2 separate regions of the Homo sapiens genome follow, and region 1 is linked to region 2. Evidence: promoter capture Hi-C in 16 types of primary human blood cells and fetal thymus (Javierre and others, 2016). All regions are on one chromosome and are shown on one strand. Each heading gives the region's core, a stretch centred on a gene start or on the middle of the fragment in contact. The rest is flanking DNA. Distances are from core to core; before and after follow the strand shown. Region 1 overlaps LOC124902945 (a long non-coding RNA gene). Region 2 holds the start of BAZ2A (bromodomain adjacent to zinc finger domain 2A).

The links. The method cuts DNA at HindIII sites, captures the fragments that hold promoters and counts their contacts. A CHiCAGO score of 5 or more calls a contact.
Region 1: a contact is called between a fragment that was not itself captured here and the fragment with the promoter of BAZ2A in region 2, in 2 of 17 cell types (megakaryocytes and endothelial precursors). The highest score is 11.2, in megakaryocytes.

Annotation. Positions count from the first base shown.
Region 1 is chr12:56,985,902-56,992,249 of GRCh38, reverse strand. The region is part of intron 2 of LOC124902945 (a long non-coding RNA gene); the gene reads left to right. It also overlaps the pseudogene LOC390332. Among named protein-coding and RNA genes, the nearest start is that of ACKR5, 5.4 kb to the left of the region's middle. RefSeq lists a cis regulatory region at 282-1,096. The HindIII fragment of the contact is 313 bases long and covers 3,382-3,694 here.
Region 2 is chr12:56,625,426-56,631,758 of GRCh38, reverse strand. BAZ2A (bromodomain adjacent to zinc finger domain 2A) reads left to right here and starts at 1,433. Exons shown (of 29, transcript NM_001300905.2): 1 at 1,433-1,634. RefSeq lists enhancers at 1,127-1,196, 1,227-1,276, 4,055-4,556 and a silencer at 1,497-1,846. The HindIII fragment of the contact is 7,835 bases long and covers 1-2,676 here.

The sequences.
Region 1 (6,348 bases), core at 2,289-4,788, 360 kb before region 2:
TGGTGCATGCCTGTAATCCCAGCTACACAGTAGGCTTAGGCAGGAGAATCTCTTGAACCCAGGAGGCGGAGGTTGCAGTGAGCTGAGATCACGCCACTGCACTCCAGCCTGGGCCGTGGAGTGAGACTCTGTCTCAAAAAAACAAAACAAAACAAAAACAAAAAACCATCATGATGAACCATGACAGTGTGAAATGTGGCTTACTTCGATTTTTCAGTTAGTTTTGCTCTTATTCTCTCCCTTTAGGGTCTTAGTTTCTATCCCATTGATATTTTTCTTCAGTAAGGAGCCTTCTGAGAATTTCCCCTTCCCACTACATGCTTTTGACCCATGCAAATGAAGCCTGTCCTAGATCAAGCACCCTCCAAGGAAGGCCCTGGTCTGGTCTTTGTCCTCTCCAGATGGCCACATCTGTGACCACTTCCGTTCCTCACAAGACTGCCCTTTAGTGGCTCCTGTCTCCTGGGTCTCTGAATTGTCCTTCCCATATGGAGACATCCCCCCTGCAGCCTCACCTCTACCTGCTGCCTTCTCCCACCTATTCCTGTCACCCAATGTGTATTTGTAGAAAGAGGAAGTGATGGTGGTTCCTTCTGGCAGAGGCTCAGAGGGAAAGCTCCTCCCTCAGGAAGAAATAAGTGATAGCTCTGCAGTTTTCATGTGGGGCTTTTTAGGGGGTGGGGTGCAGCTGGAAAGAGAGAGACTGGGAGGAAGAGAAAGAGGGAGGAGCAGGAGGCCAGGCTCCTCGCCAACCTGGGCAAAAGGAGCAGGCCAGCAGCTTTGCCCTATGCAGCAGAAACAGCAGCAGTGAAACAATTCCTGGAAATTTACTCTTTTTCCTCCCCGCCCCACTTTTTTTCCCCAAAAAAGTGTAGACAAGATTTTGCGATCAACAATCAGAAAGGAAGGAAGGTACCAGGGAGGAGGTATTGGGAGGCAGAGATAAAGGCAGACGACTTTCCAGGGTCAGGTTAGGCAAAGGGCTGTGCTTGGACCCTGGCAGAAGGGGTGAGGCAGGCTGTCCCAGGGATCAACCCACGTGCCTGGCTTATGGGGTGGAGGCAGGTGCTTTGTGGACAGGTTAAGGCTGAGGGATTTGGCAGTAATTGCACTCGCGTCCACAGTGTGAACTTCCAGAAGGCCACTGAGTCAGGAAGCCAAGTCTAGTCGTGGAGGTTGTTCTGCCCTCCTGCCACCAGCTTCCCCAAGCTAGAGAGGAATCTGGTTTGCCCAGAAGTACCAGATTAGGAGCTTTCCAGGCTCCTCAAAGCCTGTGCCCCACTACCCTGTCCTTGGCTCTCTCTGCTCAGTTCTTCCCTCTTCACCGGCCCTTCACGAGACACTGTGGAGATAACACCAGTTTTTGAGTCAGACCTGTTTTTGACACTTTTTTCCACCACTTGGTAGCTGTGTGATCTTGGGCAGGTCACTTAACCTTTCTGAATCTCAGTTTCTTTTCTTTTGTTTTTTGTTTTTAAATATTTATTTGTACAGATTGATGTGGTACATGTGCAGTTTTGTTACATGAATAGGTTGCATGTTGGTCAAGCCAGGGCTTTTAGGGTATCCACCACAAGCATAACATGCATTGTACCCATTGACTAATTTCTCATCATCCACTCCTCTCCCATTCCCTCTTCCTTCCAAGTTTTCACTGTTTACCATTTCACTCTCCACATCCATGTGTACACATCTTTTAGCACTCACATTATGAGTGAGAACATGCAATATTTGATTTTCTGTGCCTCGATTGTTTTACTTAAAATAATGATCTCCAGTTCCATCCACATTGCTGCAAAAGACATAATTTCATTCCTTTTTATGGCCAAATAGTATTCCATTGTGTATATATACCACATTTTCTTTATCCTTTTATTCGTTGATGGACACTTAGGTTGATTCCATGTCTTTGCTATTGTGAATAGGGCTGTGATAAACATACTAGTGCAGGTGTCTTTTTAATGTACTGATTTCTTCCCCTTTGAGTAAATACCCAGTAGTGGGATTGCTGGGTCGAATGGCAGTTCTACTTTTAGTTTTTTGAAAAATCTGCATACTGTTTTCCATAGAAGTTGTACTAGTTCACATTCCCACCAGCAATGTCTAAGAGTTCTCTGTGCTCCACATTCTTGCCAACATCTGTTTTTTTTTTTATCTTTTTAATAATAGCCATTCTGACTGGGGTACGATGATATCGCGTCATGGTTTTTATTTGCATTCCTCTGATGATTAGTGATGTTGAGCATTTTTTCATATATCTGTTGGCCATTTGAAAAATGTCTTTTGAAAAATGTCTTCTTTTGAAAAATGTCTATTCATGTCATTTGCCCACATTTTAGTGGGATTATTTGTGGGGTTTTTTTTTTTCTTGCTCGAGTTCTTTGTATATTTTGGATATCTCCCCTGTCAGATGAATAGTTTACAAATATTTTCTCCAGTTCTGCGGGTTGTTCATTCTGTTGCTTATTTCTTTTGTTGTGCAGAGCTTTTTAGTTTAGTTAAGTCCCAGTTGTTTATTTTTGTTTTTGTTGCCTGTGCTTCTGAGATCTTAGTCATAAATTCTTTGCCTAGTCCAATGTCCAGGAGACTTTTCCTTATACTAGATAGTAGATTTTTCCTGCAATACTAGATTTTCTTCTAATAATTTAATAATAGTTTTGGGTCTTATATGTAAGTCTTTAATCCATCTTGAGTTGATTTTTGTGTCTGGTGAGAGATAGGAGTTTAATGTCAGTTTCTTAATATGTAAAGTGAGGATAATGATGCTTCCCTTACAGGTTATTATATGGGATACATGAGATAATATATACAAGCATGCTCCTTTTCCACTTCATGGGGATAAGGAAAAAGGAATCCCATCTTGTGGAATTGACACTGAGAGACCTCTCTAGTCCTATTACCACCAGCCATTTTTTTCCTCTCTGAATTAGATCAACATGAGCCTCCTCTTTTATTTGGCTGTCTTGGGTTGTGTTTTTTACATAGAAGGGTGGGAACATTCCCAAATGTCACTATGAATTACCACAGAGAAATGTAGTAATAGTAACAGCTGATGTTTATTGAATACGCACCATTGGCTAGACACAGTTGTAAGGGGCTTTATCCATATCACCTCATTTAATCCTCATAACAACTTCATGGAGTGGGTACTACCATCGACAAGGAAACTGAAGCACAGAAACTTTAAATAACTTGCCCCAGTCACACAGCTAGTAGGTCAATAAGCCCATATTACAAGGATTCTTGAGCTGGATTCCATGCAGCTAATGGTTTTAGGTGTGAACTGTATGAAAAGTATAAGCAAGTTTTTGATTGTTGTGTTATGTGGGGGGCTTATAACCTTCCTTAGATTCTCGAAGGGGCCCATGATGTCCAAAAGCTTTAAAAAAAAATGACCCTTGGAGAGCTTCTGCTAGACTGGGGTCAGGATAAAAACAGCAATGTTGGGTATCCACTTGTGTGGAGCTGACTCAGCCCTGGGAATTCTAGGAAATTTCTTGCATGAGGAAGGAGGTGTCTCCTTCATGAAGGCTGAGGGATTTGTAGGATGATCTCGGAGGGATTTGAAAAGGGGAAAGTGAATGTCTTTGCTTCCCATTCCCTATCTTTCACTAGATGAAGGACAACTGTTTCCTCTGTGATTTCCCAAGTGTGAGAAGGGAGGGTGTGACATCAGTCTAAGGAAGAGGAAGCTTGAAAAGACTGATAAGAGACTGGAAGGGCCCCAGGTACTATTAATATCCCTCTGCCGCCTACAGCACTAGCAGCCTCCCCGCATGCCGCCACCCTTCCCCCTTCCTTTGGTCTCCTATCTCTCCCAGCTTCTGTTTCTCCCTCACTCTCCCATCTCCTGATCTGCACCCCTCCCCCAGCCTCTCTGTAGATGTGGTAAGTCTCTTGTTGGTTCCAGATTTCTTCCGTTTCTGTTAACTTTTGTTGAGCACCTAATGTATGCTGGTCAGAAATTCTCCAGTGCTTCCCAAGACCCCATCTTTCTAAGTTTTCACCATTTTAATAAAGGCATATGGATTCTTAGACTCCCTGAAATTGGAGATGGGAGGACTTGACAAAGTCATCTTGATTCTCCTCCCTCGTTATAAAGATGAGAAAAATGGAGGCTTTAGGAAATCTCATATTGTCGCATGATGTAAGAAATAGTGATGAAAATGGAAAGCGAAGCCAGATGTTGCAGTGTCAGCTACCTCAACATTCCTTCATCTCTGCTAGAAGCTAGCACTGCCGGGGCTGGAAATACAAAAATGACTGGACTCAGTCTCGGAGCCCTCAAGGGGCTCCGAGTCTGTCAAACCTCTAGTATGCAGCACACTCAAGGCACCATCCATGTTGCTTAATTAACAGTAGTCCAGTCTCTTACCAGCCAGCAGTCTTGCTGTTTCCCTCCTTCTTGGAGGATCCGTGCAGGGAGATATGGGGGCTCCCCGATGCTGGAGAGAGTGGCCATTGGGATGAGCTGAAGAGCCTTGGCTGATCCCAGGCCGATGCCCACGTCGTGACTGCAGGGCTAGAGAAGAACCACCAGGGGGCGCGCGGCTCTTTGCTAGCCTCTGGTTTCTGCAGGAAACCTCTCCTTCCCCCTCCCAGTCCATCTCCACTTCTTCCTTCAATTAGGGGACAGAAATTGGGCAAACATGGACAGTGGGAGAGAGGCCCAGTGCAAATAAACCCTGGATTATTCTGTCCCACACCTACTCCCCCAGCTCCCTGCCCCTCTACATCCTGCCCACCAGTTATGAAATAGTTTCCTCGACCTCACACCGAGGGACCCTCCATGGACAGCAGAGGTCCAGTCTGTACCCCTTTCTGTAGTCTCCTGAGAAGGAGATCCCTCCTGTCCATCAACACCCTGATACAAACTGAAGTAATACCTTTACAGTTACTAGGGTTCATATCCTTCCCTGCTTGGGCAAGGTTTTGGACCACCATCCTCATTGTCCTTGTTCAAATGAGCAATGTTTTTAGCCTCTCAGTGTCTGAGGGGTCCAGATCCTGGATGTGGGCCCTGACAGGGGAGGGCAGAGGGCAGTGGAGCCAGCACCCAGGGCATATCAGGAGGTGAGCAGGTGAGCCCTGTGACACCTGCATAAGTCATTCCATTCCCCTTCCCAGCAGCCCTGGGTACTTCCTTCCTGTGGGTTCCAAGGCTCCATTCCCTTCTTTCCCCTTTCTTTACCTGTGAGGTTGGACTCTCCCTGTGGGTGTTCCACATCTTTCTGCCCCAGAAAACTACTGTAGCAGGAGGGGACTTGCTCTTGTTCACTTTTTTGCCTTCTCCTTCTCATCCTAGAGAGCCTGATCGTGCCCTACTTTTCTGGGGAGTGATTGATTCTGGATGCTGGGTGGGATGAGGAAACTCAGGCTCAGAGCAGGATTTCCACTGAATGTGCCTGGAAACCATGTGTAGCTTCCCAGTAAAGTCTGTTTTCTGGGAGACCATGGTCCAGGAGTGTTGGTATACAATGTGTGTTAGGCCGTTCTTGTGTTGCTATAATAAATACCTGAGACTGGGTAATTTATAAAGAAAACAGGTTTAATTGGCTCATGGTTCTGCAGGCTGTACAAGCATGCATCTGCTTGGCTCCTGGTGAGGCATCAGGAAGCTTATAATCACTGCAGAAGTCAAAGGGGGAGCTGATTTGTCACATGGCAAGTGGGAGCAAGAAAGAGAGAGCTGGGGAGGTGCCACACTTTTAAACAACCAGATCCCATCACAACTCATTCCAGTGTCTCCAGGACAGCACCAAGCCATGAGGGATCCACTACCATGACCCAACACCTCCCACCAGCTCCTGCCTCCAATATTGGGGAACGCATTTCAACATGCAATTTTGGTGGCACAAATATCCAAACCATATCACAAGATATGTAGAGACAAGTTCTGACCCTTGTTTGTAGATCAGAGTGGTGTGTTTCATGGTGTGTGTGTGTGGGCCCCTGTGTGGACACCTGAGTAGGCACAGCAAGGCAGAGAGGCATTGGTGGACTAGGGAAGCATTGCTGAGTAGTGATAACTACTCACTGGGCAGAGCTTGGGGTTTGCAGTTGCATGCATGAACACCTGCAAAGGCAGTTGAAAGAGCAGAGAGATGAAGCCAGGATAAAAAATGGTGCAGAAAGACAGTGATCAGAGAGGAAAGTGAGGACTTTCTGCCAAAATGCCTGAGGGCTTCCCTGCCTACCTCAGCCCTCTGTGTTCTTAAGTCCTCCTGTCTGAACAGAGGCCAGACTCTCACTTCACCCCAGCCCGTCTGGGTCTGTCCTCTGCAAAGCCATGTGGCTCTACCTGGCGGTCCTCCTGGGCCTATACTACCTTCTGCACTGGTACTGGGA
Region 2 (6,333 bases), core at 184-2,683:
TTTGTTGACACCCCAACTTGCCAGAGTTTCATCATCCCCACTCTGTTGCTTTTCCAGAATATTCAGCAGCCTGAGCTTTGCACAGTTTAGGCAACTGTTTCTAGAACTGCATTGCATTGAATTAAATGGGAATTATCTTCAAGGCTGCAAAGTGTTGAGTTGCAAGGAAAGGAAACCTGGTTTCCTTTCTTGTCATATTTTATCCACTGTTTGACATTGAAGAAGTCATTGAACCTCTTTGGGTCTTAATTTCTTCATTTGATGAAGGAGAGAAGGTTGAACTAGAATTTTTTTTTTTTTTTTTTTTTGAGATAGAGTCTCCCTCTGTCACCCAGGCTGGAGTGCAATGGCGCGATCTCAGTTCACTGCAACCTCCACCTCCCAGGTTCAAGCGATTCTCTTGCCTCGGCCTCCTGAGTAGCTGAGATTACAGGGGCACGCCACCACACCCAGCTAATTTTTGTATTTTTAGTAGAGACCGGGTTTCATCATGTTGGTCAGGCTGGTCTTGAACTCCTGACATCATGATCCACCTGCCTCGGCCTCCCAAAGTGCTGGGATTACAGCCGTGAGCCACCGCGTCCGGCCTGAACTAGAAATTCTCTAAGCTCTAACATCATATGACACTGTTCTTCATCCTGGTGCCCTGCAGTGGACATTTTAGGTGACAGCCAAACTCTAGTCCTCTGCTAGATTTTACTTTTCTGAGTTTTCACACAGTTATGTAGCCCTGTCAGAAAAAAATTCCCAGAACCATAGAATGGGTGGACATTTGTGGCATCTTTTTGCTGATTAGTTTTCAGCTTATCCTTTACTTCTCTGACTGCATTTAGGCTACACTCAGGTCTTTGCTGTCTGGTTCCAGAGCCGAACCTTCTTTCCCCCACGCACAGGAATCTTTCCTTTCCGGTGACCAGGGCCCTGCAGATGTCGCCAGGAAAGTGGTGATCCAGGCAGGACCAGGCTGCACTGAAGGGACAGAGGTGAGTGGGTGGCTGACTCTTGCCTCTCCCCATCCCTTTACTGAATCGCGACCTGAGTGACTAACCTTTCTATTTCCACGTTTCCATTACCCTACCTGGGAAATAACTGCCCCCGAAATTCCCCTGACTCTTACCCCTACCAGCCTGTTAGAGAAGTGGCACCTGCCTTTGGGCCTAGACGTTTGGTCTAGTCTTTTAAGTTAACCTTGGGACTGTGGCATGCCTTTCAGTTTGCCCTGTGTGAAGCAGGACCACTGCCTCCATGAGATGCGGGTGCAGAGGGAGCTGCCAGGTGGGCAAGGTGGCCAGAGTTGCAGGAGGCACAGCGGCGCTAGGACCCAGGTCCGGGTCGGAAAGATGGGCTGGCGGGCTTTAGGACCCTGTGGCGGAGGCCGCGTGGGGAGACTCTCTCCCGGCCGAGGCTTCTCCGCCCCCTCCGGCTCCGACTCACTCCTCCCCCGCCGGCCATGTTGGCTCCTCTCGGGCCCCGCGGTTGAGCCGCGTCCCCCTCCCCCTTCCCGAACCCCGGACCCCAGACCCCCTCCCCAGCGGGCGTCTCCACCCGTTCTGGCGCCCGGAGCGCGGCCATGTGAACCGCTTGTACCCCGGGGAGAGACGAGCCCCGAGCCCGGCTGGACGCCGCTGCCTCAGGTTTGTGGGGTCTGTGGCCAGGGGCCTGAGGGGGAGGGAGCCCCGCTTTCATCCGAGGCTTCCCTCGGGGAACAGAAGCTCCAGAGCCGGCTTGAGCCTTGCCGGGGCGGGAAGCCGACGGGAGCTTATTTCCTGCGAGGATCCAACCCGAGGCGAGGGTCTCCTTGCTCTGGGGTCTGGGAGGAGAACAGGGCTGGTGGGGCTGCTGAGGACCCCGGACGGGGCCGCGGGGGCAGGAGGAGCTGTAGGGGCTCCCGGCGACAGTGAGGAGGCGGAGAAGCCGCCTGGCTGGTGGAGATGACTCCTGTGGGGGACTTGGGGTGGAATCCCCGGGAGGGGCTCCACCTCCTCGGGTGGGGGTGGGGATTGCCTGAGCGCGAGGGGTGGGTGAGGGGGTTCCCTTGGCGGGTTAAAACGCTCCGTTTGCGGGGAGCTGGGCGTTTTGACTGTGGTGAGTGGAGGGCGGAAGGGGTTTCCAGGGGTCTGAGGGTGTCTCCCTCGGGGAGCGCACCCATTCTCTTGAGCGTGAAGATCAGGAGAGGGCCTTCCTTGCTGAGGGTGGTGCTGCGCTTGGCTTGGGGCCCTCGCGTCCCGGGAGAATCGCGCACTCCGGGGATGGAGGTTGATAGGGCTTCCGCTGAGGCTTTCCAATTTGAGCTGGGCTGAGGGGCAGAAGGGAAGAATAAAGAGGAATTCCTTTTTCCAAGGAGATTCCTCACTGAGGGGATCCCCGCTTCCGTGGCAGAAAGATGATACCGCATCATCCCTTTCTTTCCCGGTGTTCCCAGTTTTCAGGAGAAGGCAATGTCAATAGCAGTTGTCCTTTGTAGGGTTAATTGGAGTGAGAGATTTGTCTGCTTTGGGGGACGACGGAGGGGATAGCTTTCCACCTCTATCTGTACACAAACAGCCCCTCCCCCAGCCTCCCGCAGGAAGTGGCCGGGAAATGGCAGCTGTGCGTTTGCTGCTGCGTGTCTTGTTGTTTTGAAATGTCCATTTTAATCAGATTTGGTTTCATTTTCTGAAGCCTTCTGGGCAAGCTTGGATCTTGCCAACCATGTGGCCCGAGAGACCTTTCGTTGGACTTTTTTTTTTTTTGTAAACTTGTCAACTGGAAGTAGTCAACTTCAGTTGACTCACGTATCCCAATCCCTTCTCCAGAACATCTCTGTCTTCCTGTCTGGTTTCGTTTTGTTTTCCCTTTAGCTAGAGGTCATAGAGAAGCAAACTCAGTTATCTACCAGCGGGGTACGCTCTATGTAAGTGATGCAAATTCCCTCAGCATAGAGAGCTGTCAGGGAGACTAGAGAGCTTTTGTGGCACGAGTAGCTTCTTGGGGTCCTACTTTAGTATAGTTATTATGACAGTTTCTATATTGCAGAGCACCTGAGCAAGTGAGCTTGTGAAGAAGGGTAGATTCTAAGAAATGGACGAAGAGGAAGGGGTGAGGAAGATTTAACTATTAGATGGATTTGTGTGTCGGGGGTAGGGACTGATTAACAGACTGAGATTGGTGAACTCAGTCCTTGGTGGTGATTCTAGCCTAAGGGCAGCCCCTGTGGGAAGCTTGTTATTTGACTAAGGGGTGCTGGAGATACTACCTTCTGCAGAATCAACTAATTAGAATAGTACAGTTTGTTATCATATGACTTACTCTTTAATCCATAAAAGAACGTCTCCCCTCTTATTCTTCTTGGAGATTGGTAAGCTTTTCCTCTGTTCCCTGCAAAGTCGTGCCCAGATTTTTTTTTTCTTTCTTTTCACTTGATAATCCCAGGATATTTCTCCTGTAACATATAGTGATGGACTGTGTGCTATGTCCCCAGGCATTTTGTGGCACACTGGATTTGGTTAGGGGCAACAGTTGGCCACAGAATTTTATTTTTCTTTCTTTTCTTTTTCTTTTCTTTTTTTTTCTTTCTGTCTTTTTTTTTTTTTTTTTTTTTTGAGACGGAGTTTTGCTTTTGTCGCCCAGGCTGGAGTGGTGTGATCTTGTCTCACTGCAACCTCTGCCTCCCGGGTTCAAGCGAGTTGCCTGTCTCAGCCTCCCGAGTAGCTGGGATTACAGGAGCCCGCCACCGCATCCAGCTAATTATTTTATTTTTAGTAGAGACGGCGTTTCATCATGTTGGCCAGGCTGGTCTCGAATTCCTGACCTCAGGTGATCTACCCACCTCGGCCTCCCAAAGTGCAGGGATTACAGGTGTGAGCCACCATGCCTGGTCTTCTCTTCTTTTCTTTTTTTTCTCTTCTCTCTCTCTTTTCTTTTCTCTTTCTTTCTTTCTTTTTTTTTTTTTTTGAGACAGGGTCTCACTCCGATGCCCAGGCTGGAGTGCAGTGGCGCCATCATAGCTCACTGCAGCCCCGACCTCTTTGGCTCAAGTGATCCTCCCACCTCAGCCCCCTGAGTAGCTGGGACCACAGACACGCACCACCACATCCAGCTAATTTTTTGTAATTTTTGTAGAGGTGGGGTTTTGCCAGTTTGCACAGGCTGGTCTTGAACTCCTGGGCTCAAGTGACCTGCCTGCCTTAGCCTCCCAAAGTACTGAGATTACAGGCATGAGCCACCATGCCCGGCCTATGACCCCAGGACCACAGGATTTTAGATTTTGAAAGATAAAGTTTTGTTTTTTTCTTTTTCTTTTTTTTTTTTTTTGAGATGGAGTCTCGCTCTGTTGCCCAGGCTGGAGTACGGTGGCACCATCTGGACTCACTGCAACCCTCGCCTCCCAGGTTCAAGCGATCCTCCTGCCTCAGCCCTCCAGTAGCTGGAATTACAGGCATGCGCCACCATGCCTGGCTAATTTTTGTATTTTTAGTAGAGAAGGGGTTTCACCATGTTGGTCAGGCTGGTCTCGAACTCGAATTGAGCCTCCCAAAGTGCTGGGGTTACAGGCATAAGCCACAGGGCCAAGCCTTGAAAGATAACATTTTCAGATTATTTGGACTATTCTGAAAACTACGTAAGCCTGTCATTTAAATCATCTTTTCACTATTTATTTTCCAGGCAAAAACCCCTCCCACCTAGATGAAGATCCCTAGATTAAAGATCCAGTATGGGAGCAGATAGACACTTATGATTGTGTGAAAGTGGCATCATCACTAGTAAGATAGCAGCATCATTGCTCTTCTCACTGGGGCTGTTGGGGTTTTTGATATTCTGGAAACAGTAAAAACAAGTCCATCTGATGTCAGCATCCTTTTTCTTGCCCCTGATTAGTTCCTTTAAGTTGCTGTCTGATGGGGTTGATTTGATGCTGATTTTAAGTTCCCCTTTCTTCAGCCTTTGCTTACCTGAATTGGCACTTGACAGAACAGCAAGTTGATTTTCCCTGTTGGGGGTTAAAAGAGTAAAGAAAGGAGAGATAACTACTCTTGAGTCTTTGGACTTTTAAAAGAAAAGCTGATTTTGAGAAAATAGTGATTTCATTTGATACATGATTGAATTGGGAGCTGAATGAAGCAAACCTTTCATGGCCTTCTTATAAAATGGGTGCATTTTTCTGTCAGAGAAATATATTTCTTAATATTTCAAGCTTCTCGATGAAAGAAAAAATCTGAGGTGTAAAGAGAGCTGTATGGGCTGACCCCAGAGCCAGTCTAGAATGAAGGGTTCATCTTGTAGTCTTGCGGCTCTGGAATCAAGTATTACTGGGAGAGAAGCAAAGCTTGTTAGGGTTACTGACAGTGTCTTCCTGCTGTTGACCTTTCTTGTCACCACTGAAGAGGTCAAGCACCAAACTGCTATTTTTACTGCTGAAACAGTATAGAAGTTAGTCATTGATAATGATGTTTGACCTTGTGTAAGATGTATCAAGAGCAGCAATAATGCCAAGTATAAAATTTGAGATAATTCCTGGGGTAAATAACCTTCTTGGTTTGTTTCTTAGGATGTTGGTGTCCTCATATGCCTTATATATAGCCCAAGATGAATAGTTTCTCAGTATTATCTCATGTGGGTCAGTAGGACTATTTTTCACCAGCTTGTTATTATCAGTCTGCCTAATTTGGAAATTTAAAAAATTGTGCAAAACAAAAAAGCCCATCTTTGAAGATATCTGATACTTTGAAGATACTGTCACTAGCAGTAAAAGTAGCATTGGCTTAGTGTTTTGTCTTTTCTCCTCTTTAAAGAGAACAGTTATTATGGGGGCATTTTGCAGACTAAAATACTGTAATCTTGCCAAAAATTTACCAAAGAAAGGAAGAAGTTTTTTGTTGTTGTTTTTTTTTTTTTTTTTTTTTTGAGACGGAGTTTCGCTGTGTCGCCCAGGCTGGAGTGCAGTGGCGCGATCTCGACTCACTGCAAGCTCCGCCTCCCGGGTTCACGCCATTCTCCTGCCTCAGCCTCCCGTGTAGCTGGGACTACAGGCGCGCGCCACCATGCCCGGCTAATTTTTGTATTTTTAGTAGAGACGGGGTTTCACCGTGTTAGCCAGGATGGTCTCGATCTCCTGACCTCATGATCCGCCCGTCTCGGCCTCCCAAAGTGCTGGGATTACAGGCGTGAGCCAAGAAGTTTTTAAAAGATAGATGGTCTTCCTACTTTTAGTCTTTTGAGGTTGGACTCTGTAACCTGCCTCATGAATGGGGTCCTTAACCTGCCTGCTTAGCTCATATTTGGGGGTGGAAAGGGTGGAGTCCTTAACTGTTAGAGTTTAAATTCTGGCTGGGCACGGTGGCTCAGCCTGCAGTC